Linked DNA regions of Homo sapiens: regions 1, 2, 3, 4, 5 and 7 are each linked to region 6. The links are contacts of gene promoters, found by promoter capture Hi-C in blood cells and fetal thymus (Javierre and others, 2016). All regions are on one chromosome and are shown on one strand. Each heading gives the region's core, a stretch centred on a gene start or on the middle of the fragment in contact. The rest is flanking DNA. Distances are from core to core; before and after follow the strand shown. Region 1 has its middle 70 kb from the start of TOP1. Region 2 overlaps LPIN3 (lipin 3). Region 3 has its middle 94 kb from the start of TOP1. Region 4 has its middle 9.5 kb from the start of LPIN3. Region 5 holds the start of EMILIN3 (elastin microfibril interfacer 3). Region 6 holds the start of PLCG1 (phospholipase C gamma 1). Region 7 has its middle 130 kb from the start of TOP1.

Evidence for each region. The method cuts DNA at HindIII sites, captures the fragments that hold promoters and counts their contacts. A CHiCAGO score of 5 or more calls a contact.
Region 1: a contact is called between a fragment that was not itself captured here and the fragment with the promoter of PLCG1 in region 6, in 5 of 17 cell types (activated CD4 T cells, fetal thymus, total CD4 T cells and 2 more). The highest score is 12.2, in activated CD4 T cells.
Region 2: a fragment that was not itself captured here is called in contact with the fragment with the promoter of PLCG1 in region 6 in 8 of 17 cell types (naive CD4 T cells, non-activated CD4 T cells, total CD4 T cells and 5 more); the score reaches 11.4 in naive CD4 T cells.
Region 3: a fragment that was not itself captured here is called in contact with the fragment with the promoter of PLCG1 in region 6 in 1 of 17 cell types (fetal thymus); the score reaches 5.5 in fetal thymus.
Region 4: a contact is called between a fragment that was not itself captured here and the fragment with the promoter of PLCG1 in region 6, in 12 of 17 cell types (naive CD4 T cells, total CD4 T cells, activated CD4 T cells and 9 more). The highest score is 26.6, in naive CD4 T cells.
Region 5: the fragment with the promoter of EMILIN3 here is called in contact with the fragment with the promoter of PLCG1 in region 6 in 7 of 17 cell types (non-activated CD4 T cells, activated CD4 T cells, naive CD4 T cells and 4 more); the score reaches 5.9 in non-activated CD4 T cells.
Region 7: a contact is called between a fragment that was not itself captured here and the fragment with the promoter of PLCG1 in region 6, in 1 of 17 cell types (fetal thymus). The highest score is 5.2, in fetal thymus.

What each region holds. Positions count from the first base shown.
Region 1 is chr20:40,957,314-40,960,801 of GRCh38, forward strand. No RefSeq gene overlaps it. Among named protein-coding and RNA genes, the nearest start is that of TOP1, 70 kb to the right of the region's middle. The HindIII fragment of the contact is 7,671 bases long and covers 1-3,488 here.
Region 2 is chr20:41,346,551-41,350,524 of GRCh38, forward strand. LPIN3 (lipin 3) reads left to right here. Exons shown (of 20, transcript NM_022896.3): 3 at 1,002-1,097; 4 at 2,069-2,337; 5 at 2,542-2,622; 6 at 3,224-3,344; 7 at 3,505-3,847. Among named protein-coding and RNA genes, the nearest start is that of LPIN3, 7.7 kb to the left of the region's middle. RefSeq lists an enhancer at 485-1,008. The HindIII fragment of the contact is 2,400 bases long and covers 1,045-3,444 here.
Region 3 is chr20:40,933,465-40,937,061 of GRCh38, forward strand. No RefSeq gene overlaps it. Among named protein-coding and RNA genes, the nearest start is that of TOP1, 94 kb to the right of the region's middle. The HindIII fragment of the contact is 2,473 bases long and covers 146-2,618 here.
Region 4 is chr20:41,329,577-41,333,115 of GRCh38, forward strand. It overlaps the pseudogene ADI1P1. Among named protein-coding and RNA genes, the nearest start is that of LPIN3, 9.5 kb to the right of the region's middle. RefSeq lists an enhancer at 269-318. The HindIII fragment of the contact is 6,350 bases long and covers 1-3,539 here.
Region 5 is chr20:41,364,950-41,368,787 of GRCh38, forward strand. EMILIN3 (elastin microfibril interfacer 3) reads right to left here and starts at 1,869. Exons shown (of 4, transcript NM_052846.2): 1 at 1,519-1,869; 2 at 86-208. The coding sequence starts at 1,685. RefSeq lists an enhancer at 606-1,107. The HindIII fragment of the contact is 20,041 bases long and covers 1-3,838 here.
Region 6 is chr20:41,135,288-41,138,792 of GRCh38, forward strand. It overlaps PLCG1 (phospholipase C gamma 1), which reads left to right and starts at 2,256. Exons shown (of 32, transcript NM_002660.3): 1 at 2,256-2,571. The coding sequence starts at 2,355. LOC124904903 (translation initiation factor IF-2-like) reads right to left here and starts at 2,226. Exons shown (of 2, transcript XM_047440629.1): 1 at 415-2,226; 2 at 1-5. The coding sequence starts at 2,052. The coding sequence ends at 1,471. PLCG1-AS1 (PLCG1 antisense RNA 1) reads right to left here and starts at 2,713. Exons shown (of 7, transcript NR_109889.1): 1 at 2,427-2,713; 2 at 415-524; 3 at 1-5. RefSeq lists enhancers at 771-1,555, 2,340-3,124, 3,046-3,145, 3,294-3,373 and silencers at 1,526-2,515, 2,636-2,895. The HindIII fragment of the contact is 8,103 bases long and covers 1,214-3,505 here.
Region 7 is chr20:40,893,573-40,897,527 of GRCh38, forward strand. No RefSeq gene overlaps it. Among named protein-coding and RNA genes, the nearest start is that of TOP1, 130 kb to the right of the region's middle. RefSeq lists a silencer at 3,847-3,955. The HindIII fragment of the contact is 4,981 bases long and covers 150-3,955 here.

The sequences.
Region 1 (3,488 bases), core at 721-3,220, 180 kb before region 6:
CAGGGTCGCCAGGTAAACACGGTTGCTCAGTTACTTTCAAATCTCAGATAAACAATGAACAATTTTTTAGGGTAAGAATGTCCCAAATATTGCATAGATGTCATGTAAAACCTGGCAACCCTGGCCCCAGGGCCATGAGGGACCTGGTAGAGTATTGAGCTGATGTCACTATGAGAAGTTCCAGTGTCCATAACCATAGCCCAGTCTCACTCTGCACGCTGCTCTCCCCCTGCTCAACCCATGGGCGTCCCACTAGGGGCTCTGGGAAGATGTGACTTCTCGGAGCTGGTGGGCAAATCACACAGCCTTGCTGAGCCTTATCTGCAAAACAGAGGCTCCCAGCCTGTCCCAGTTCTTCCCCTTCATGCTGCACAGGGCTGATGGGGATGGACAAGTCTGTCCCTTGCCAGCTACATGGTGGAGGGCCTATGGCAAGGGCTGCCATTGGGGCTGGCAAGACTGGGCCCCCATCCACCCTAGGAAGGTTGAGTTTCCTTTAGTCCTCTTGAAGACATAGTAACTATAACTCAAAACTTTTGTTTGTATCATTTTCCTTGAAACCTTGGCTTTGAGCTAGGAAAGGACAGAGGGTCAGCTGGCACAGCCTTTGTGGAAAAGCGCAGTGTATCTATCAAAGTTAAAAATAAGTGGATGTTGTGGCCTGTAATCCCAGCACTTTGGGAGGCTGAGGCGGGCGGACCACCTGAGGTCAGGAGTTTGAGACCAGCCTGACCAACATGGCGAAAACCCGTCTCTACCAAAAATACAAAAAAATTAGCCAGGCGTCTTGGCGCGCGCCTATAATCCCAGCTACTCGGGAGGCTGAGGCAGGATAATCGCTTGAACCTGGGAGGCAGAGGTTACAGTGAGCCAAGATTGTGCCACTGCGCTCCAGCCTGGGCAACAGAACAGGACTCCATCTCAAAATAATAACAATAATAAATAAGTGCCTGTTGTATTTAAAATAGAAGCACTATATGAGGACTTAGTAAATCAATCAACCAATAACTACCCCTTTGACATAGCAATCCCACTCCCAAGCATCCAAACCAGGGAATAACAAGGATGTTTCTATTAATACCGCCAAGTCACAAACAACCTGAAATCAATCTAAAGGGGATGAGATGGATGGACTGTGATGTAGTCAAAAGAAGACACAGAAGTCATCAGAATGAGAGAAAGATATTGCCTAACCTGCAAAGATTTCCAAGATATATTATTATTATTAATCATTATTATTATTAGAAAAAAGCAAGTTGAGAACGTTCCAGACCAGGATTCCTCAACCTTGGCACTACTGACATTTTGGGCCGGATCATTCTTCGTGTTGGGGGCTGTCCGGGGCAAGGCAGGCTGTTTAGCAACACTCCTTTAGCACTCTACACACCAGATGCCAGGAGCACCTCCCTCCCCAGCCATGATGATCAAAAATGTCTTCAGATGGTGTCAAATGTCTCCTGGGGAGTAAAATTCCCTCCCCATCCCGCTTTCCCACCCCCCACAGTGAGAACTGGTCTAGACAGCATTGTCAGGAATGTTTACATGAACCAAAGTAAACACCTAACTAGAACTTCTATAGGAACTTAGGTAAATGTATGAATGCATAGCAGAAAGTCTGAAGGGAGTCTCCAAACTGGGAGCTGGGGTTGTCTCTGAGGAGGGAATTGGGAATTTGGGTGGGGGGGAAGAGAGGGATCTGGGGAGACCTTTGCTTTTGTTGTATGATCTGCATGTTTGACCATGAGAATGCATGCATCTGTTCAGTACTTTTTTGTTCTTTGTTTGTTTTCTTTGAGAAGGAGTCTCACTCTGTCGCTCAGGCTGGAGTGCAGTGGCGCCATCTCGGTTCACTACAACCTCCACCTCCCGGGTTCAAGGAATTCTCCTGCCTCAGCCTCCCAAGTAGCTGAGACTACAGGTGCCCACCACCACGCCCAGCTAATTTTTGTATTTCTAGTAGAGATGAGGTTTCGCCATGTTGGCCAGGCTGGTCTCAAACTCCCGATCTCAGGTGACCCACCAGCCTCAGCCTCCCAAAGTGCTGGGATTACAGGCCTGTGCCACTGCACCCAGCCATCTGTTCAGTACTTTCATTATAAGAGAGAAAGGAGGAGAGGGAAGGGAAAGGGAGGGAAGGGGAGGGGAAGGGAATCAATGGGAAAGGAGGGTCAAGAAGGAGAAGGAGAGAAGGAAGGAAGGGAGGGAGGAAGAGAGGAAGGAAGGAAGGAAAGAAGGAGGGAAGGAAGGAAGGAAAGAAGGAGGGAAGGAAGGAAGGAGGAGGGAAGGAAGGAAGGAAGGAAAGAAGGAAGGAAGGAAGGAAAGAGGGAAGAAAGGAAGGAAGGAAAGAAAGAAGGGAGGAAGGGAGGGAGGGAGGGAGGGAATGAGTGGCAGAAGCCAAGTCTGCAGTTGGGAAATCATGGGACGTGCTGGCTTTTCCTCTCTGATCCTCAGTGTCCTCAAAGAGAAAGGCACAGCATAAACAGGTCTCTAAAGACCCCTCCTGCCCCGTCCACTGTTGAAGAGAGCCCCAAGGTGACCTGGCCCCCTCCCTCCCGGCTGTCCCTCCCACACAACCCAGTTGTTGCACAAAGAAAAGAAGTGCTTGGGGCTTCTCCTCCCTCTCAGCATCTCTGATTATGCCTCCCTGCAGGAGGAGGGGAGGTTGGGGCCTGGTCAGCAGCCCAGCTCCACACCGAGGACTTGAGGACTCGCTGGAGCTTGATTAAATAATTACACAGAATCTACTGAGTAATCATGCCCGTCTCAAGAAGCAAGGAGCACCTTCAGAGGGAGGTCCCATTAGTGATTTGGGGGCGTGTGAGTGTATTTGTCTACTGCCTATGATAAAATTATCATCAGAAGGCCTCATTTACAAAATGCATCCCTTTCCCCCATCTCCTTCCATCACCTCCCAAACCCAGAGATGTGTATAATGTAATCCCCATTCCACGGCAGAGGACAGGGACTCACGAGCTTTGGGGCTGGCTCAAGGTCCCAGCAGCAGGGGCTGGTGGCAAAGGTGGTCAAATACCAGAAAGTGCACACAGAGTGGGGACAAGGCTCAGGACTGAAACATTTTAGAAGAGGTTTTGTTTGTTTTTTATTGTTTTGTTTTGTTTTCTCGCTAGGATTATTTCTCTCCTTTCAGTTTTTGAAAACAAATCTAAAATCAGCCATGGGAGCCTCCCTAGGTCTTGCTGCCAAGAAAACAGCCGAGCATGGAGGGTGAGGGCTGGGACTCACTGCGGCCGCCCTCATTTCCGATTTACCCAGGCCAAAGGGGACTGCCAGGTGGAGAGGGGGAGCCCAGGCCATCCTGGGGCTCTGTTCTCAGGCCTAGGGGCCAGGATCTTCTGTAAGCCACCCACCCCCCAGCTCCAGGATAAGGACACCCCTTCCAGCCAAGCGCCTGGTTTAATTGGGAACGGAAATAAACGGCTTACAAGAGGCTACACCAGGGCTCTCTGTGGCCCACAGGGCCTGGTCCT
Region 2 (3,974 bases), core at 995-3,494, 210 kb after region 6:
GCCCACATGGTGAAACCCAGTCTCTACCAAAAATAGAAAAATTAGCCGGGTGTGGTGGTGGGCACCTGTAATCCCAGCCACTCCGGAGGCTGAGGCAGGAGAATCGCTTGAATCCAGGAGGCAGAGATTGCAGTGAGCCAAGATTGTGCCATTGCACTCTAGCCTGGGCGACAAGAGCGAAACTCCGTCTCAAAAAATAAATAAATAAATAAAAATAAATAAATAAATCCATTCCACCTTCACAGGGCTCAGGCAAGCACAGCAGAGATTTTTGTTAGCAGCAAGGTCTAGGGTGTGAATCAAGATTCACACTGAGGCAACTGTGACGTTTCCAGGATCCTAATAGAAAAGTGTAGCCTATGGGAAATAGTATATCTAAGAGGCTAGTAGCTTGGGTTGTAGACTCAGCCTTTTTGGCTTCATAAGCTCACTTGCTGTGAGGCTGCCTCCTAACCAATTACTCAAACCCCCAAAGCCTCAGTTTCCTCATCTGTAAAGTGGAGGTAATGATAGGAGCTACTGCAAGGGGTTGCAGAGATTAAATGAGATAATCTATAGAAAACACTCCACAAAGGGCCAGTACACTAAAATTCCCACCATTGTTTATGCAGCCAATAACCTGGGGGCTGGGGACACAGCGATCACAAGAGAGACCACGTCCCTATTCTTATGGATGTGAGAGACAGAGGGAAGAACTTGGAAACCAGGCAATACACAAGAAGACCGAGACAGTGACAAGTACAATGAGGCTCAGACAGTGGGGCAGTGTGAGTGAGGGAGAGATGGGTAGGGAGCTCAGTGAAGGCCTCTCTGAGGAAGGGGAGATGCAGCAGAGCCCCCCTTCGTGGGGAGCAGCCAGGCACTTGAGGTCCGGAGGGAGGGAACCCCAGCAAGTATGGTGTTTGGGGCGGCAAGGAGCCACTGGAGGACCAGCCAGGAGGCCTGTGGTCGGAAGCATGGGCGTGAAGGCCCATGTCCCTGCCACCGCTTTCCATTTGCAGGTAGACATTGAGCTCAATGGGGAGCCTGTGGACTTGCACATGAAGCTTGGGGACAGCGGGGAGGCCTTCTTTGTTCAGGAGCTGGAGAGCGATGATGTGAGTCTGCCCTCCTAACAGCACCTGCCCCGCCCACCCCTTTCCTGTGCCTCTTCTGGGCAGAGCCTTGGGATTTGTCACCATCCTCGCCCTTCCCCGGGAGCACCCCACCAGCAGAGGTCTGAGGCAGGGGTATCAGTTGGGGCTGGCCTCTGGCACACGTGATATGCTGTGGGGGCCCAGAGGAAGAGGCCAGGGTACCAACTGACTCTATTTACTGGGAAGTTGGGGAAGGTTTCTCAGAAGACTGGACCCCTGAGCTGGGCCCCTGTGGGATGAAAAGGAGGCCTTCCCCAGGCAGCTTGAAGAGGAGGCGGGAGCTGAAGAAAGGGGCTGGGAAGTATAACATCTGGCTTGTCCTGGGTCTGGTGCCAGCTCCGTGTGGCTGGAACCTAGAAGTGTGTAAGTGGTGGGTGTTCGCACAGGGGAGGCAGGGCCCAGCAGAAGCCAGCAGAGGAGTTGAAACAGAACTTGAAAAACTTTGAGTCCCTACTGTAGGCCAGACACTGTGCAACAGACTCAGATGACGGGTGACCCCTGCCTTCAAAGAAAGTTCCAGGCTGTTCTGGGAGCTAGACACATAAACAATGGATGATGAGCCGTTTGGTCATTGCAGTGAGGGATGTTGGGATTGGGAGAGGGATAGTCAAGGCTCCTTCCTGGAGGAGGAGACATATGGCTGAATCTTAAAGCAGAAGTAGATGTCTGCTGTCATAGACTTGGGTAGAAGAGGAGATCAGAGGCCGATGCCAAGATCTCTGCCTGGCCTGCCAGGGTGGCAGGTGGCTCTGTTGGGGACCTCTGAGGCCAGCAGTGGCTACAGGGCCAGGCTGGTGCCTCCACACCTGTTTTCCTGACCCTAAATGAGCTCACTCCAGGGCTGGGACCCAGGCAAGGCTCAAGATGACTGTGTGGTGAGCGCAGCCCCACTAGGGTCAGCCCCCGACCTCAGTTCTTGGTCTGTTCCACAGGAACATGTGCCTCCCGGCCTGTGCACCTCACCCATCCCTTGGGGGGGTCTGTCTGGCTTCCCCTCGGACTCCCAGCTGGGCACTGCCAGTGAGCCTGAGGGCCTCGTCATGGCAGGCACGGCCTCCACTGGGCGGAGGAAGAGGCGTCGCAGGAGGAAACCCAAGCAGAAAGAGGATGCAGTGGCAACTGATTCTAGTCCAGAGGAACTGGAGGCAGGCGCTGAGAGTGAGCTATCCCTGCCGGAAAAGCTGAGGCCAGAGCCCCCAGGGTGTGTAAGGACCAAGGGACTTGAACCCCAGTTTGGGGGTTCAAGTGCTGTTTCCTCTGCTCATGCTGTGTGACTTTGGGCAAGGGCCTTGACCTCTCTGAGCAGTAGTTGCTTCACCTTACCAAGCCCCTGATGTCCAGGCTCTCATGCCTGCCTGGGGCATCCTGCCTGATCAGTGACCATTTCCTTGTGGCCCCTTAGCAGTGTCCAGTTGGAAGAGAAGTCTTCACTGCAGCCCAAAGACATCTACCCCTACTCGGATGGCGAGTGGCCCCCCCAGGCCAGGTAAGAGTCCAGGTGGGCTGCAGGCCAGGACTCCAGATCAAGGTCTGAGGTTTCCATTTGCATTTTTCCTGATGACTAATGACACAGGACCCATTTAATGTGTTTACTAGCCATTCGTATTTTTCCTTTGTAAAGAGTTCAAGTCTTTTATTGATTTTTTTAAATTGCGGTAAAATATACATAACATAAATTTACCATTTTAACTATTTCAAAGTGTATACAGTTCAGTGGCATTAAGTACATTCAGTGTTGAATGACCATCACCACTATCTAGTTCCAGAACATCCCATCCCCCAAATGGAAACCCTATGCCCATTAGGCAATCCAGCTACAACTTTGCCATCTTCTTTTTTTTTCCTTCCTTCCCTTCCTTCCTTCCTTCCTCCCTCCCATCCTTCTTCTTACTGGATTGTCTTCTTCTTGTTGATTAGTATAAGTTATTCATATATTTGTATACTCTTTAGATCTTTACATATTCCTTATATATTATGGATTCAACACAGGCATAAATATAGGTTGCACATATTTTTTTCCCTGGCTGGGGTGGGCAGCAGCGGGGATGGGTAGGCAGGCTCAAGGCCTCTCAATATGTCTCCTGCAGCCTCTCAGCAGGTGAGCTAACATCCCCTAAGAGCGACTCGGAGCTGGAGGTGCGGACCCCGGAGCCCAGTCCCCTAAGAGCCGAGTCCCACATGCAGTGGGCCTGGGGGAGGCTGCCTAAGGTGAGTCCCTCTGTATCAACCCCAGGCCCGGCCTTTCAGGGGCTCTGTGGCCCCCATGGGTCAGGGTTGGAGGGACTGAAACTCGGGCCACTGCCCCAAAAGCTTTGTGGGGCATGGGCCTTACCCTGGCCCACATCTTCCTCCATTTGTTCCACTAAAGGTGGCCAGAGCTGAGCGGCCCGAGTCCTCAGTGGTCCTTGAAGGCAGAGCTGGGGCAACCTCTCCTCCTCGGGGAGGACCCAGCACTCCCTCTACCTCTGTGGCTGGCGGCGTGGACCCTTTGGGACTCCCAATCCAGCAAACAGAGGCTGGTGCCGACCTTCAGCCTGACACAGAGGATCCCACTCTAGTGGGTCCCCCTCTCCACACCCCAGAGACAGAGGAAAGCAAGACTCAGAGCTCTGGGGACATGGGCCTCCCTCCTGCCTCCAAGTCATGGAGCTGGGCCACTCTGGAGGTTCCAGTTCCCACCGGGCAGCCAGAGAGGGTCTCCAGGGGGAAAGGTGAGTGACGCTGGGTCTCTCCCACTGCCTCCCTGGCCTCGCTCTGTCCCCTGGGTGGGTGCTGGGACTTCAAGTACATTTTGAGCACCTGCTGTGTGCTAGGTGCTGTTCTTGGCACCAGCCTCAT
Region 3 (3,597 bases), core at 132-2,631, 200 kb before region 6:
GGCAATGCCCTGCTCTCATGGAGCAGGGAGATAAACAATTAAATAATCAAATAAGAAATATGTTATTCATTATTTAATGTGACTGTGCAAAGGATATGGGGTAGGTTGAATGACTGGCTCCAATTCTCCACCCCTCTATGTATCAAGCTTTTTCAATATAACATTGCAATCCCTCCCATCCATGGACTTTGGCAAATTTGGGCATTGTTTTGGCCCATGAGATGTGAGTAGTCACGACATAAGCAAGAATCTTACATGAGCTTGTACAAGGAGGCTTACCCTCTTACACTTTAGCCATAGCCATGAGAACATACCCTGCCTAGCCTGCTGATCCCAGGAGATGAACAAGAAGTGGATGAGAGCTGAGCCACCAACCCATGAATGAAATAAATACTTACTATTGAATGTCACTGAGATGCTGTGCTATTTTTGCTGTTGTTACACAGCAGTAGCTTAACAATGTGGAGCATGATTAGAGATAATGAGACAGGAAGGTAGGCAATAGAGAAAGACTGAATTTAGATGGAGGATAAGAGATGAGTCAGTTTCGCTGAAAAAGAAATATTGAAACAGAAATATGAGTAACTCATAGATACACAAGAATGCAAAAGTGGGGAGAAGAGCTTCACAGGCAGAGGGAATAGCATGTGCAAAGGCCCTGAGGTAAGAAGGAGCAGGATGCATTCCAAAAATTCAAAAAAGGACAGGGAGCAAGGAGGCCAGGGAGCAAGGGAGAATGTGGTAGCAGATGATGAGATCAGAAAGGAAGTTGAGTAAAGGACCATGCAGACATATAGCATGACATAAAGTTTGCATTTTATCTAAGGGCAGTGGGAAGCTAATGAAGGGTGTTGAGCATACCAGCACCTGATAAAAATTCCTTCCACTGCTGAGTGAACAATGGATTAGGGGTAAGACAAGAGTGGGGAAAGGGATCCAGGGAGGAGGCTGCTGCAGCCACCAAAGTGGCAGGTGTTGGCCCAGGATTGGCAGGGTACTGTAGAGATAGAGAAAAGGGGACAAAGGCAGGGTGTGGTGGCTCACACCTGTAATCCCAACATTTTGGGAGGCCAAGATGGGAGGATTTATTGAGGCCAGGATTTCAAGACCAACCTGGCCAACATAGCAAGACCCTGTCTCTATAAAAGAGAGAGAGAGAAAAGGGAAAAAATCTGAAAGGTACTTTGAAGGTAAAGGTAACAGGACTTTTTCCAAAAATAGGCCTACATACACATGTCAGTTGACTTTTGAAAAACGTGCCAAGTCAATTAGATGGAGAAAGAAGGCAGAAAAGAGAGAAAAATCAATCCATAGTTTGTACCATAATTAAAAATTAATTCAAGCCCAGGCTTGGTGGCCCACACCTGTAATCCCAGCACTTTGGGAGGCCGAGGTAGGCGGATCACCTGAGGTCAGGAGTTCAACGCCAGCCTGACCAATGTGATGAAATCCCATCTCTACTAAAAAAAAAAAAAAAAAAAAAAAATACAAAATTTCGCCAGGCATGATGGCACACGCCTATAATCCCAACTACTGGAGACGCTGAGACACGAGAATCACTTGAACCCTGGAGGTGGAGGTTGCAGTGAGCCAAGATCACGCCACTGCTCTCCAGACTGGGTGACAGAGCAAGATTCCATCCCCCAAATATATAAATAAATAAATAACTCAAAGTTGAGCATAAAGTTGACTTCATTGATATTGTTTAAATTTCTACTTCAGAAAACACTATCAAGAAAATGAGAAGAATTAGAGTGAAAGCAAAAAGACTTCTCTACAGAATGAAAGAAAATATTTGCAAATCATGCATCTCATAAGGTTCTAATGTCCAGAATATATCAATAATTCTTACAACTCAATAATAGAAAGACAAACAACCCAATTTAAAAATAGGCAAAAGATTTGAATAGATATTCTTCAAAGAAGATATACAAATACCCAAGAAGCCCATGAAAGCATGCTCAACATCATTAGTCATTAGGGAAATGTAAATCAAAACCACAACAAGATACCATTTCACACTCATCAGGATAGCTATCATCGAAAAGATGAACAATAACAAGTGTTGGTCAGGATGTGCAGAAATTGGGACCCTCATACATTACTGGTGAAGCTGCTTTGGAAAGCAGTTTGGCAGTTCCTCAAAAAGTTAAACATTGAGTTACCATGTGACCCAGCAATTCTATTCCTTGGTATATACACAAAAGGAAAAAAAAAAGTTCTCACAAAACTTATATGCAAATGTCTGTAGCAGCAATTATTCCTAATAGCCAAAAAAAATTGAAACAACCAAAATGCCAACCAATTGATGAATGGATAAACAAAATGTGATTTATCCATACAATATTCCTGAATTTAATATTCAGCAGTAAAAAATAATGAAGTATTGACACATGCTACCACGTGGGTGAAACTTTAAAACATCATGCTAAGTGAAAGAAGCCAGTCACAAAGGATGACATGTTGTATGACTCCATTTCTATGAAATATCAAGAATGGTTAAATCTATAGAGATACAAAGTAGATTAATGTCTTCCAGGGGTTGGAAGAAGAGGGGAATGGGAAGTGCTTGCTAATGGGAAGGGAGTTTCTTTGTATTTTTTATTATCTCATAGTAAAGCTTTAATAAACATCAGTTTCCATCCTCCCAGTTCTAGCCAAATTACTTTAATAAAATATATCTGTATATACAGTTTTTTCAGCTTTTATTTTGGATTCAAATTTGGTACATGTTCAGGTTTGTTACATGGGTATATTGCATGATGCTGAGGTTTGGGATATGGATGATCCCATCACCCAGAAAGTGAGAGGTAGAGAACCAATAGGTAGTTTTTCAGGCCACATCTCCTCTCTACTCGAGTGGTCCCCAGTGTCTATTGCTTGTGATGGCATTTCATCGGGGGCGATGAGAATGTTCTGGAATTAGAGAGTGATGATTGTACAACTGCATGAATATACCAAAAACCACTAAATGGTATGCTTTAAATGGGTGAACTGTATGGTACATAAATGTATGGTACATAAATTTTATCTCAATGAAGCTGTTAACCAAAAATAAAAGAGCATAGACCTAATGTAAAGCCTAAAACTATAACTCTTCAGAAGAAATATAGGAGAAAATCCTTGTAAGTTTGAGTGAGGCAAAGATTTCTTGTATATGACATCGAATAAGAAAAACAAGTGATAAGTTGGACCTCATTAAAATTAAGAACTATTATTCTTTCAAAGAAGACACTGTTAAGAGAATGAAAAGGAAAGCCATAGGATGGGAAAAAGTGTTTGTAAATGACATATATGATAAAGAATTTATATTCCAAATATACAAAACTATCAAAACTCAATAATAAGCAAAACAGCCCAATATTTTTTAAAATAGGCAAAAATTGTGAATAGACACTTCCCCAAAGAAGATATTGGGATGGCAAATAACCACATGAAAACAAGGTTCGACATCATCACTCCTTAGGGAAATGCAAATTAAAATCACAATGAGATAAAATGAAGTATTCTGTCCCCCACAAAGACTTGTACACATATTTCCACAGCAACATTGGTTGTAATAGCCAAAAGCTGGAAAAAATACAAATGCCATCAACA
Region 4 (3,539 bases), core at 643-3,142, 190 kb after region 6:
GTTGTGACTCAGCTAGTCGTTCAGGGACACCTCGATGAACAAGGCCACGGGAAGGAAGTCATTACACAGAGAGCTGGACTGTAAAAACCAAAAATACTCTACACACCAAACTCTAGAGCAGTGCAGCAGTACATCCCATGACTCAACGGGACAGCTTCTGCCACGTGGCACACAGCTCCGGATATGTGGTGCGCAGCCCTCACTCGCGGCTCTGCTGCCGCTCTGAGCTGCTTGGAAAGTTGATGGGGTGGGGAAATCTGTGACTGTATTCTCTCTCCACCCCCTCCACTCTGACCATTGCTCCTCTCATCAGCTCCCCCTCTTCCTACTCCTTCTTTAACCCTCTTGCCCTGCAAAAACAAAAACAGCTGGAATTTAGTATTTCACACATGCTGGCAATTTAGTGGGGACACATGGAGGTCAAAACGCTGGCACTCTAGGAAGACCCTACTGATCAGGCAGACACTGGGCAACAGGTCATATCACCTGGGACAGGGTCAAGAGTACTGGGCAAAGAGGCAGCCCCAAGGAACAGAGACTTCAAGGTACAGGCAAAACCTTTAAAGATGTGGACATTCACTCACTAATCTTTATCAGAGACCTACTATGTGCCAGATGCTTTTTGTTTGTTTCTTTGAGACGGAGTCTCATTCACTGGAGTGCAGTAGCACCATCTCGGCACACTGCAACCTCCACCTCCAGTTCAAGCAATTCTCCTGCCTCAGCCTCCCCATGAGCTGGGATTAGAGGCATGCACCACCACACTTGGCTAATTTTTATATTTTTGGTACAGACAGGGTTTCACCATCTTGGCCTGGCTGGTCTTGAACTCCTAGCCTCAAGTGATCCACCCGTGTTGGCCTCCCAAACTGTTGGGATTACAGGCGTGAGCCACCGTGCCCGGCCCCAGACTGTTCTTAGGAACTGTCAGTGAAGACAGATCAGATGTCTTGTCCTCACGGGGCCTGCATTCTTTTGGAGGGAGACACACACATACCAGACATCCTCAAGAAGTGAATTAGCACTCAAGGAAGTTGTTAGGGCTACTGGAAAAGATTAGAGCACAGAGAGGTGTCTGGGCATGGTCAGGGTAGACTTCATGGACATTGGTGTGGTCTTGAGGTTAGTGAGGGAGCCAGCCAGGTAGGCATCTAGGGAAAGAAACTTCTGGGCAGAGGAAACAGCCAGTGTGCTTTTTTTTTTTTTTTTTTTTTTTAAAGAGAGAGTCTTACGCTGTCACTCAGGCTGGTGTGCAGTGGTGTAATCACAGCTCTGCAACCTTGAAATCCTGGGCTCAAGCGATCCTCCCATCTCAGCCTCCCAAAGTGTTGGGATTAAAGACATGAACCACTGCATCTGACCAAGTATACTTTTAAGTGTACTCAATAATTGGTTTCCTTTTCCTCATCTATAACAACAGTTTCTACCTTTTGTCCAGCTCCTGAGAGCCTTGAGTTCTAATCACAACAGCCCCTCACTCCCAGTGGCAGCCCTTCCATGCAGCCTCCCCTCTCTAGCCCCACTCTGCCTGTTAGCATCTGCAGCCATGGTGCAGGCCTAGTACATGGATGAGTTCCCAGACTGCTGGAGGCAGCCCCACCACCCCGAGCCCCTGGCCACCCAGTGGGCCAGAAACAGCCATGCTGGCTCAGGGTGCACTACTAAAGCTGGACACTGACAAATGAGAGAATGATCCAGAATTAGAAAAGACTCAAAGAGAGAGAAGCTACTCCTGGATAGACATAATAACCATATGTAAAGATAAATTACCAAATTATGAAGAAAAGATTAAGGTGTTTTATGGGGAGCATTTACACTTGGATGATCGGATCTGTTACATCCCGGGTGGCAGTGGATACTTTTGATATGACAGATAAAGAAGACAAGTGAATCTACATCTTCATGGAGAAAGGAGACATAACTCTCCCCACAGGAATTCGTCACCACCTCACTCTGGATGAAAAGAAGTACGTGAAGGCCATATGGCCATTCAGGGAGACCCAGTGTGGACAGCATACAATGGGCCAGCTGACCATTTCAATGTCCAGGGACAATACATGAAATTTCTGGCACAGACAGCATAGCAGGGCTCCCTGAGAACATGTACTTTGTGAAGGTCCTAAACGTAACTGAGCACAAAATCATTTTTCTCTTTGCTTTTATACGGTAAACTTGTCTTTCCTTTGCAAGATTATTTGATCAGAATGTTTTTTATCTTATTTTTATTTTTTGAGACAGAGTCTCACTCTGCTGCCCAGGCTGGAGTGCAGTGGCATGATTCCAGCTCGCTGCAATCTCCACCTCCCAGGCTCAAGTGGTTCTCATGCCTCAGCCTCCTGAGTAGCTTGTATACAGGTGCACATCATCACACCCGGCTAATAGAAACAGGGTTTCAACATGTTGGCCAGGCTGGTCTCAAACACCTGGCCTCAAGTGATCTGCCTGACTCAGCCTCTCAAAGTTTTGGGATTACAGGCATGAGCCACCGTGCCTGGCTCAGAATATTTTTTAATGAAAGGAGCAATAAAACTGATTTTTACATGGAAGCAACTGTGGAAATGAAGACAAGTCACCTTCGTTTTGTCTAATGCAATCAAGACTAGTGGTTCAGTAGCCCTGTGTTAGTACATGCACTCATCTTTAGTCCAAATGAGAGTTTCATCTCCCAAAATGTATCTCCTTAGATGTTCTATCTGGACATGATATTGTGCCTGCCTTGTAACAAGGTGCAATGGTAGATAACCAGATAGAAGACACTTTTTTTCTCCCAAAATTATACACTGAGGTGGGGAATTATACACATAGAGGGAAGAGCTCTTATGTTAGGCGACACATTCTGAGTTGCTTATGCCACTTTCTTGTTCAAAATAAAGTCATTGCTGGGCGCGGTGGCTCACGCCTGTAGTCCCAGCACTTTGGGAGGTCGAGGCGGGCAGATCACGAAGTCAGGAGATTGAGACCATCCTGGCTAACACGGTGAAACTCCGTCTCTACTAAAAATACAAAAAATTAGCCGGGCTTGGTGGTGGGCGCCTGTAGTCCCAGCTACTCGGGAGGCTGGGGCAGGAGAATGGAGTGAACCTGGGAGGTGGAGCTTGCGGTGAGCCGAGATTGCTCTACTGCACTCTATCTAGCCTGGGCTACAGAGCAAGACTCCATCTCAAACAAAACAAAACAAAACAAAATAAAGTGACTGCCTCAATTTTATGCTCATGGCTTGGCATTATCTTATATTCAAGTATATATGGTATTTTGCCTAGCTTGTTAAAATCACCAGTTTAGATTCTTTGTGTGACTGTATATGTATGTGATTAATGTGTATATTATCTGTGTTGGTATTTTTTTCAGTGCGAGTTGTCTAGGTTCTTTCACAATCAAGATTTTAACAGAATTAGTATTTTAAAATTTATCAAGAGAATTAGTACGTTATTTTTCTACTCAATTCTAAGACTCTACTCAATTCTAAGACACAATTATGCCTAGTTCGTTATAATCATAGAAAAACCCCAAATAAATTTCATGTTTTAGAAGGTCAGGTT
Region 5 (3,838 bases), core at 619-3,118, 230 kb after region 6:
TGGAGTTGGCAGCTGCTCTCAGCTGAAGGCAGGACTGGCGCTTGTGCCAGGGGATTCCAAGTGTGTAGGTGAGGAGTGCACTTACGTGACTGTCCCGGGGCACTTGGGCCCCCATCTACACTGCCGGTATTCAGCCTTTACGTAGCTCTCCGCTCCCTCCTGTAGGATGCAGGTCACATTCCTGTGCACCACATAGGCACAGAGGGCCCTACAGGAGAAAATGGCACCCCTGGAATATCTGGCTGAGCGAGGCCCACAGAGGCGCCTACCCTCCCACCTCCATCTGTGGGCCTCAGCAGGACTCCAAACTCCCATGTCTCTTCTGTCTGTTCTCTGTGTCCCTGGGAGCCAACGCCCTTGGTCTGGGGTCCAGCCCCGCTGCTGGTCTCTGATTCCAGCCTCCGTGATGGGTGGCCCCTGGGCTAAGCACTATTTGGAACCAGGAGCCTGATGTGGCTGCCCCTCCCTGCGTGGGGAAGAGGCCAGCCCGGATTCTCCCTCAAGTGCCCTGCCACACCCCCCCATCCTTCGCTGATTCCAAACTCCTTATCTTGGCATTTAAGGCTTCCGAGTCCCCACTCAGTGACTCCTTTGAGAGCACCATGTCTTGTCCTTCCTCCCTGCCTGGCTCCCGGGGAAATCCACCTCTCCTCGTAGTTTTGCAGCCCCTGCCTTTGGTCCTGTTCCCTTACTCTCAGAGCAGTTCTTGTACCACCTCCTCCAGGAGGCTCGCTGTGATGTACCCAGGCCCACTGAGTGTCGGTACTCTTCCTCCTACAACAGCTCTCAAATTCAGCTAGAATTCAAGTTCAGCCAGCACCCCAGGCAGAGCCTCCAGCCCACTTAACTGAGGCCAGTTCGCAAGCCACTGCCCACGAAACACCAGAAGCTGAGGCGGGGAAAGCAGGCTCCTTGATGAGCCACAAGGGCTGAGGAGGTGGCTGCCTGGCATAAGCCGACCGCTGTGGACGGCTGTGCCACAGCACAGGCCCGGAGCCAGGAGCCCGCTCTGGCTCTGCAGCCCGGCCACGCTGGGGCTCCCATGGGGTTGCTGGGGCCAGGCTGACTGCGAGAGGGCAGCGGCCGCCCGGATGCGCAGCTCTATCTCCTACCTGGCCGGGCCAGGGGAGAGAAGGGAGGCCCGGGGCGGGGGAGCCCCGCGTGCTCAGCGCGCGGACCGCCTTTCCTCCTCTCCCTCCACCTGGTCCGCTCGCCCGGAGTCTGCACACAGCGCAGCTGGAAAATGTTACTTCGCTGGAAAGGTTTCCGCTGGCACTGCCAGGATCCCAAGCCGCCGCGCCAGGCCCCCTCGGTTCCTTTTTCCTCGCCAGCCCCGCAACCTCCCGGAGCGTAGGGCGCTCGCCTGGGCAGGGGCTCGGCCCCGGGCGCCGCCCCCTCTGTGCAGCGGCCTCGGGGTGCCCGGGGCCTCGACGCCCCCCGCGGGTGCGGGCAGGTGGGAGCGGCGACGCGCGCGGGCCCATCCCTCCCTCTTCCCGCCCGCCGCCCGCCCGCGCTTACTTGTGCGGCCCCGGGCGCAGCCGCGGGCGCCATCCCGTCGTGTAGAGACTGTAGCGGGAGGCACCGGGCGGCGCAGGCCGCGCCAGGAGCGGGGTGCCCCTGGCCTGCGCCCCCGAGAGCAGCGCCGCGACGGCGCACAGCCAGACGAGCAGGCGGCGGCGGCCCATAGCGGCCCCCGCGCCTCTGCCCGGCCCCGCGCGGTGCCCCCCGCCGGGTGTCCGCCTGCAGCGCCGCGCCGCCCCCGCCGCTGGTCGGCCCGGGTCCCGCCCCGAGGGTCCCGGGGTCCCCTTCGGCCCCCGAGCTCGCTGGCCCGGCCGCCTGGCGCTTCGCGGCGGCTGCGTCCCGCGGAGTGGCCGGCGCTGCTAGCGGCTGGGGCCGCGGAGGGGAGGCGGGAGGCGGGCTCTTTGCGGATTAGCATAAACTTGGGGCCGCGCCGCTCGCCGCCGCCAGCCCCTCGCCCCAGCTCCGAGCGGACGGCCGAGGAGCCGCCTGCGAACAGGAGGTTCCAAAGGGAGCAGCCCCAGGTGGCAGGGGCGCAGGCCGCCGCGCCCTGGGAGGCCCCCCGAGCACACCAGCCACTCTGTCGCCTGCGGGCACGGGGCGAGACGCAGAGAAGCGGACCCCTGAGGCCAGCCTGGGCGTGGACTTTCCAGGAGTCGTCCACCCTCAGGATACGCTTGTCTTCAGAGTCCGTGTGAACCCGGGAACTGCTCTCCAGGGCTCTGGAGCCGAGATGGCCGTGACTGGGGGCACAGCAGCACCACCTCCCCCGCCACCTCTTTGGAATAGACCCCAGATCATCCCCGTTTGCTCGCTCTGCCTCCTGGCCCCATCATTGCCCGGGAACCTTAGTTTGATAACTCCGCTGACCTCTCCCCAGGCATCCCACCTCCCCCTTACCCCGCAACCTCTGCCACGTAGCCTGGTGGCCCGGTTGCACCTCTGGTTCTCTGGAGGCGCCTGTGTTGCCTCTCTGTCTTAGGTATGGGTTGCACCGAGCCCGAAAGGCCTATCACCGCCCCAGCCCAGCCAAAAGTGCTGTGCTTTTCGTGCAACTGAAGCTCTAAGCCGGCTGGTCAGAGAAAATCCTCAGGTCTTTCTCACAAGGCACTGCCGCGGTGAAGCCAGGCGTCGTCCACATTTTGCTTGTGAAGTTGACTCTTGGAACCCAAGAGTTGGGTTTTATCGTCGTCCTCATTCAGTATCACCTTGCTAACTCTCTAACCTGCACAGAGTCCTTCTGATTCTGTCATCAGAGCGGTACTTTCCTGGCCTTGTCTCATCCACACCGGTGGCTACAGCCGTCTGTGTCTTTGCCCCAGGAGCTGATAGGTGTACAGAACTCTGGGGCTTGCTTGGAGAGACCTCCCTCCAAATTGACCTTGAGATATGAATTAATGCCTTTTGGATAGGGTGATGGTTATCAAGGATACTGGAAGGGGCAGCTCCGAAACCCACATCTATTTCCTGCCCTTAGCTTTAGTGGCTTTTGGGTTCTGTGGGGCGGACATCTGACCCCAGCTAGGCCCATCCTGCTTTCCCCCAGGCTTTGGAATCAGAACACAGAAGCTGAAGGAATCCAGCTTCCAGGTGTAGGTTGTGTGAGTTTCTCAGGGCTGTGGTAACAGCCACAGACTCAGTGGCTTAACACACAGAAATGTATTCTTGCACATTTCTGGAGGCTAACTCCAAAATCCATGGGCCAGCAGGGCAATGCCCCCTCCAGTGGCTCTGGGGAGAAGCCTTCCTTGCCTCTTCCAGCCACTGGTGGTTCCTGGCAATCTCTGGCGTTCTTTGGTCAAGGATTCTTTGTAGCAGCATCACTCCAGCCTCTACTTTCCCTCCGCATATCCCTCTTCAGGTGACCTTTTTTTCTCTGTGACTGTGATCTGTGTCCTTTCCTCTTCTTTCTGTTTTTGTTTTTTGAGCCAGAGTCTCGCTCTGTCGCCCAGGCTGGAGTGCAGTGGCGCGATCTCGGCTCACTGCAAGCTCTGCCTCCCGGGTTCACGCCATTCTCCTGCCTCAGCCTCCCGAGTGGCTGGGACTACAGGCGCCCGCCATAATGCCCAGCTAATTTTTTTGTATTTTTTTTTTTTTTTTAGTAGAGACGTGGTTTCACCGTGTTAGCCAGGATGGTCTCGATCTCCTGATCTCGTGATCCGTCCGCCTCGGCCTCCCAAAGTGCTAGGATTACAGGCGTGAGCCACCGCGCCCTGCCTTTCTGGTTGTGTTTTTAAATTTGAGACAGGGCTGGGCGCGATGGCTCATGCCTGTAATCCCAGCACTTTGGGAGGCCGAGGTGGGGGGATCACCTGAGGTC
Region 6 (3,505 bases), core at 1,006-3,505:
CATTCCTGATTAGAAGATAATTATGAGGATCAGGTGTGACCACAGGTGCACACCTTCAGCACAGGGTCTACGCTAGCTCCGTCCCGCCCACGTAAAGACCTGCCACTAGGTGGCAGTCCATCTCAGCTACCCCACCGCTCCTTACTCCACAGAGGCTGGCTAGGACAAAGGGTCTCAATGTCATGCTGAATTCTGAGCTTCTTAGGGGACGCACTTGAGGAAATCAACGTTAACACACAAGTTTCCACTACAGCAAGACAAAGTCAGAAGCAGCAGCCCCAGGTCACTATCCAGCTGAGTGGGTTGCCTGAGCACACGCTCTTACAAACTCTAGTCTAGTCCTACTATCTCACAATTCCCAGGAAGCCTGGCTCTTTCTCTGGCATCAGCTGGAAGCTCTGTTGGGCTTCTCACCTCTGAAATGCAGTAAGTTGTCCTGCTGTGCCTGGCAGCCGACCCACTGCCTGGCTCAACATGTCAGACAGGCTCCACCGCGACCGTGGGTGTCCTCAATTTTGGCGGTGCTGACAAGGGTAGATAGATTGCAGGGGTGAGTTTCAAGAATGGCTTCAGAAAGACAAAGAGTATGAATTATATTCCATAACCAGAAAAAGGCCTTGTGGCTGGAGAATGGAGAGTGAAGGATCACTTGTGAGAGATGAAACTGGTGAGATGGGCAGGTCATATAGAACCTGCTAGGCCAAGCAGGGAGTGTGGATTTTAGGTGCAATGGGAATTCACGGAGGGTTTTAGCCTGGATGTAGGGGATCATGATTTAATTTCATTTTAAAGATTTAAAGCATGATAAATCCAGGCAAAACCAAACTGATAGATCCAGGCAAAACCAAACAAGGTGAGTAGTCTGGGTGACAGGAGATGGGGCCTTCAGCTTGTGGGCTGAGTGACAAGGTCTTGATGGATTGGAGGTGAGGCAAAGGGAGGAATCAAAGTTAGCTGCAAGGTTTTTGACCTTCCAACTTAGAGAAGTTTAGCGCCGCGTTCTGAGAAAGTGAAGACTGTGGAAGGAATCGTTTGGGGAGGGAAGGCGAGCTGTCTAAGGGGGGGGGATGTGGAACATGCAGTGGGATGCTGGGGCCTGGAACGTAGGGGAGATGCAGGTTTGGAGTCACCGGTGCCTGTGTTGTTGGGCAAAGCCAGGGGAAAGGTCAGGTCGCCTTGGGATCTGGCCTAGCACTGAGTGCAGAGGAAGAGAAGCTTCTGAGATCGAGAGGCAGCGGCTACAGGAGGAGGAAGAAAGCAAGGCGGGGAAAACCAAAGTTCAGGAGAGCATTTGCAGGAGGGCGCTGCGGGGTAGGGTCTGAGTCGGAGCCCCGAATCGGACTCGAGTCCTGTCGCGTGGGGACGGAGCGTGCAGAGGCCCATGCGAGGGACAGACACAAAGGCCCTGGGAGCTGCAGGTCAGACCACTGGACAGCGCGGCCGCGGACCTAACGCCCCTGTAAGGGGTGCTCACGCTTGGGGGGAACTCTCCGAAAGAGAGGACCACTGAAAGCCACCCTGGCAGCAGGGGCGGAACAGACAGACGTGGGTCTGGCCGTCGCCAGAACTGCCTGCGGACCAGCCCCGCGCTGCCGGGGGGGCGGGACATGTCGGCTGTCCATCAGTGCCCGCGACCAATCCGCAGGCAGCCCCGCCCCCGCCCCTCCCGGGAGAGGGCGCGCGGAGGACCCGCCGCCGCCGGTGTGAGGCGGCCCGTCCTGGCTCCCTTGTCCGGGAAGCCCGCCCAGGTAACTGAGTTTGGCCGGGCATTCCCGGAGGACGCGCCATCCCCTCACGTCCCGTCCCGGTCGCTGCATGGGCGGTGTTCGGGACGCGGGGGCTGCGTCTGTGCGGGACCGCGGGGTAGCGGCCGCCCGTGCGAGTACGCCTGACTGACGCGCCGGCCGCCGGGCCTGCGGCCTGTGGGCGGGGCTGCCGTGCGTGACAGGGCCGCTCGTGGCCGCCGGGCTGTGTCCGGGGCCGCGTGAGAAAGCTCTGCGGGACTGAGGGCTGGGTGGGTCGACCGGGAACGGCGCGCGCTCCCGCCGCCATCGCGCCTCCGTCCCCGCCTGCGGCCTGTCTGGGGGTCGCGGGGCGCAGGCGCGGCGGGCCGACGGGCGGGGGTCCTCCCCACGGGTGCGCGGGCGCCTTTGTTCCCGGCGCCGAAGCGGGGTGGGGCCTCAGGGCAGCCCCGCCCCGCCGCGCTGAGGCCCCGCCCCGTGTCCGCCTGCAGGAGCCGCCGCCGGGTCCCGCTCGTCTGCCGCCTCAGCCTCAGCCCCAACCTCAGCCGCCGCCGTTGCGCTTGCTCCCGGGCGGTCCTGGCCTGTGCCGCCGCCGCCCCCAGCGTCGGAGCCATGGCGGGCGCCGCGTCCCCTTGCGCCAACGGCTGCGGGCCCGGCGCGCCCTCGGACGCCGAGGTGCTGCACCTCTGCCGCAGCCTCGAGGTGGGCACCGTCATGACTTTGTTCTACTCCAAGAAGTCGCAGCGACCCGAGCGGAAGACCTTCCAGGTCAAGCTGGAGACGCGCCAGATCACGTGGAGCCGGGGCGCCGACAAGATCGAGGGGGCCAGTAAGTGCGCCCACTTCCTGCCTGGGCCCGCCCCGCGCGGGGGTCGTGGGAGCCCGGCCCGACTGCTTGCACCCCGGCCGGCCGCCCCAGCGACTTGGGCAAACTTTCGGGCCCTCCCAGACTCCCTCCGGGCCCCGCCCCCGCTTCGTCTCGGGTGGTCACTGGGGGCGGGGGGCATCCGGGTCCTCGGTCACCTGACAGGACACCCCCCCTCCCCCAGCTGGGGGGAGTGTTCCAGGCGCTTTGCCCTGAGGCCTAAAAATCCTCGCGGGCTGGAGACCTGCGGTGCAGGCATCGGGCCCCCCAGACCCTGGGAGTGGTGGCGGCGTCGGCGAGGGGAGCTAAGGCAGTGGCCCCCACCCTGCACGGGAACCTGGGGCCTGACCAGACGGTCCCCGCCCACTCTTTATCCAGAAAGAGCAGTCTGTGAAACTCTCCGGGCCCCCAGGCTGGGCTCTTATTTGCAAAGGAATCTTTGGGTTCCCTAAGTAGAACTTAGGCAGATGTTGGGTAGGGCTGGTCTTGGAGCAGAGCTGGGCCTACTCATCTCCCTCTGGGGGAGAGGGAGGAAGGTGGTCTTGTTTGGTTTGGAGAAGCCTGAGAGAAGCCAGTGGCTGGAATTTTTTTTTTTTTTTTTCTGCTACTTTTGTCCCAAAGCTGGGTTTTGGAGGCCTATGTGGGTGGGCAGACACTCAATGCCAGGGCAGGGACTCCCCTTGCCCTGGGAAGCACGTTCCCAGGAGATGGGCCCCATAAAGGCCTGCCCCAGCGCCTTGGAGTCAGGTATTCTTCTCAGGAGTGCAGCTAGTTTGTGAGTCTAGCCCTTTGTCCTCTGTCCGGTGGCTTCAGGGAGCGGGAGCGGCTTCTCTTAGTTTCCTGCCTTTTCGCCTTCCCAGGCCTGAGCTTGGCTGCTTTTGCGCTGGTCTCTAGTGGG
Region 7 (3,955 bases), core at 1,390-3,889, 240 kb before region 6:
CTATCAGGCTTAAGTACTGACTAACCCTCAATTGATACTTTAAGTTGTATTATAGTTACTTTCAAAAGTAAAAATATAAGTAATAACATATATATTCAATATTATATATCTTGCATATACCATGATTAATAGTATTTTTTAATTTTTCAAGCTTGCTGTTTTTAAATGCTAGTCAGGGACAAGGTCAGGGGTGGGGTAGGGTGAGCAGGCATCAGATTGCAAAGGTCCAGCCAGGTCACTTAGATCCTGGGCAATATCCCAAGGGTTGAGTCTGGTAAACACACAGCATCTATCCTGTTCAATAGAAAAAAAAATCATTTTGGGATGTGTTAGGTTTAGGGCTCAAATAAGCATTCCTGAGTTCTTCCTGTTCCCTGACCCAGCTGCCACAGAGAGATAGCCAGAGCCCCAAATCCAGATGGAATGGAACCAGGCACTCAGTTCATGTCCTGGTTACCAAGAATCTTGACCAATCCAGCTCCCTGTCTTCTCCAGGGCCTTCTTCCAAGAGTGGAGAGGGGTCCTCCCACACAATCGCAAATCCCAGCCACTCAGCATATCCCTGAGGCTTGGAGAACCATGGGTTTCATTATGAAAGAGTTACTATGTACCAGATCCTCTAAAAAACAGCTTCCAGACATTATTTTATTATAATTGCATAGTGACCCTGAGAGGCAGGTATGGCAGGGACTGTAGTGCAAAATTCATGTGCTCCTCTACATTTCCCACCCTCTCTTGCAACTAGTGTGGGATCATTAGACTGAGTTGCAGCCTGTGAACTGCAATGGAATTGATGTCCACTTCCCTGACCACTCTCAGGCCTAACCACAGACTTAGAGGTCAGGAAACATTTTCTGTAAAGGACTAGTTGGGCAATATTTCAGTCTTTGCAGTCCGTATGACCTCTGTCACAACTAGTCAACTCTACCACTGTCATATGAAAGCAGCCATAGATAATATGTAAACAGGTGGGTGTGACTGTGTACCAATAAACCTTTATTTATAAAAATAAACTGGAGATTCAATTTGGCTCATGAGTGTAGTTTGCTGATCCCTGCCTTAAAACCTGGCTGGCTTATTTCACAGGATACAGTGGGGAAACCTGAGGGGGCCCTATGGAAAGACAGAGCCACAGAATTAAAGGGCCTGGTTCCCTGAGTCACTGCTATAAAGTTGCCTAACCCGTATTATACTGCCACAGAAGCAAGAAATAACATATTGTGTTAAACCACAGGGATTTGGGGACTGTTTGTCACAGCAGCTGCACTGATTAACCCGACTAACAAAATAGGTTAACTGTTCCTTTTTGACAGCTGTGGGAAATGAGGTTCAGAGGGGGAAAGGATCCATCCAAGTTTACAAAGCAAAGAAAGAGTAGAGCCAGGGCTTAGGACGATCAACTCATCCTGGCATGCCAGCATTTGCCTGGTTTTAGCACTGAAAGCCCACATCCTGGGCAAACAAGGTCACCTAGCTAGTCACCCAGCCAGGACTCAAACACAGGCCTGTCTGGCTCCAAAGCTCGTACTCACAGACCATGAGGAGGGCTGCTTTCTGAAAGGAGGTGGAGTGAGGCTCAGCTTGGCTCAGCATGATTCCTGCTGGGAGGCCCCCCACCCTGGTGTCCGCTCCAGGTGTGCTAGAGCTTGCAGGTGAGCATGGAGCCTGTCATCTTCTCCCTGCAGGCCTCAGGCTTTTTCCCCAAAGGCAGTAAGTCAGGCATGAATTTTAAATATATACCAGCTTGAGTATAGACGTCAGGCCTGACATCTATAAAATGGCACTAAATCCTGCTTTTATGAGCTCTTGCTGCATTCTGCTGAGTGTTTTATCACACTCACTGGAAGTCTACTGAGGGGAGTTAATAACCCAAAAACTCTGGGGCCTGCCTGTCTCTGGATTCAGAAGTGGAACCCCCAGCTGTGGATTTTCGAGATGTTAGCACTTGCACTAAAGATGCCAGCACCTCCAGATACCTGTGCTCTGCCCTGCCTAGGTCCTTCCTGCTGCTCAATTTTAGCCCCAGGCTGGTGACTTAGGTGGTTGGGGAAGGACTCTCTGAGAGGGCAACCTTTGGGCTGAAACCTGAAGGTTGAAAAGAAGATGGTCATGCTAGAAATGAAGCGGGAAAGGCCAGGCACAGTGGCTCATGCCTGTAATCCCAGCACTTTGGGAGGCCACAGCAGAAGGATTACTTGATGCCAGGAGTTTGAGACTAGCCTGGGCAACAAAGTGGGACCCCCATCTCTACAAAAAATCTTTCAAATTAGCTGGGCATGGTGGTGTGTACCTGTAGTCCCAGCTACTCGGGACGCTGAGGTGGGAGGATCACTTGAGTCCAGGAAGTCAAGGCTGCAGTAAGCCTGCGCTCCAGACTGGGCAACAGAGAAGACCCTGTCTCAAAAAGAAAAAGAAATGAAAAGTGTCCCAGAGACAGAACAGCAAAGGCTAAGGTCCTGAGTCCCGTGACACCTAATCCAGACAGAGAAGGCTTTCCAGTAGAGGACTGCAGAGAACCAGGACACATCCCTGAAGAACCACAGCCTATAACAGATGTCCAAAAGGGAGACCTCAGCAGAACAGTCAGAGAAGTGGGAGGGAAGCCCAGAAAGCCAGGAATCATAGGTGCTAAGAGAGGGGAGCATTTCAAGGAGAGAGAGTTTGGTGGCATCAGATGCTATGAAAAACCTAATTTAAAAAGCACAGAAAGAGGTCCCTTGGCTTTGGCAATGCCAATGTCACAAATATTTAAGTGCTTACTGTGTGCTCCAGGGTCCAAGCTCCAGGGAAGCGACGGTCAAATAAAGCAGTAGTTTGGGGGCAGGGAGGGTAGGACAGAAAATCTACAAGTAATTCCAATGACACATGTTCTGTTCTGTAGGATCCCAGAAGTGGGGCAAAGTAACTCTACCAAGGAGTTGAGAAGATTTCTGAAAAGTCAGACATCTGAGTTGGGCTGTGAAGGTTGAATAGTTTACTACTAAGGTGATGAGATAGAGGAAATATCATGGGCAAAAATATCAGAAAGATATGTTTAGGAAACCAAGGAAGTCCCTTAGCCTAGGGGAGATGAGGCTGAGATAATTGGGAGGAGATAAAGGACCTCCAGCCCTGCCAAGAAGTTCGGGTTTATTCTCCAGGCAACAGGGTGGCATGGAGGGAGACGTCAGATTTACACTTTAGAAAATAATTTCTAAAACCCTGCACACTATGGTGTGTGCCTGTAATCCCAACTACTTGGGATGCTAAGGTGGCGGGATCACTTGAGCCCAGGTGTTCAAGTCCAGCCTAGGAGAGCTAGTGAGGCCCTGTCTGTGACAGAGAGAAAAATAAAAGAAAAAAAATAGTTTCTGGCTTTGAGTCCCATCCCCAGCTCTAACACTAAGCGGCAGAGTGACGCTAGACGCATCCCTTCCATCTTCTGGGCCTCAGTTTTACCCACTTTGAAGTGAGAAGATAAGACTATCCGTTCCAGTTCTTATGATCTGAGGGTTCTGTGGTCCTTCCCCAACCACCTGGGCACCCATGTAAGAGTCAGCTGTTCTGAAAGAGCCTTTTGTTTGTCTGCATCTGATACAAATAAATTCATCGCTTAGGTTCCAATTTCAGAGTCATAATTTGCCCAGCACTTTTCAGAAGAGCAAAATGACTCTCAGGGTCAACCATGCCACCAGCGTGTCTAAGAGGCTTTTTCCCAATTCCCTGGTGAGGATGAGAAACAAGGACTCCATCGTGACCCAGGGGAAAGGCTGACATTTGGTGAGATGTCTGTATTTAACTCCCACTGCTTGACATCTGCTTTCAATTAATCTGCCTGTGTTAAGAGAGATGCTGCCCAGAGCATGCGATTCAACCTCAGTTCTGGAGGGGCAGAGAGAAGCAGTCACAGAGAGTGAATGCAGATCCTAGCCACCCACTGCCCCCAACCCACACCCTCAGGGGCTCCCTGAACCCC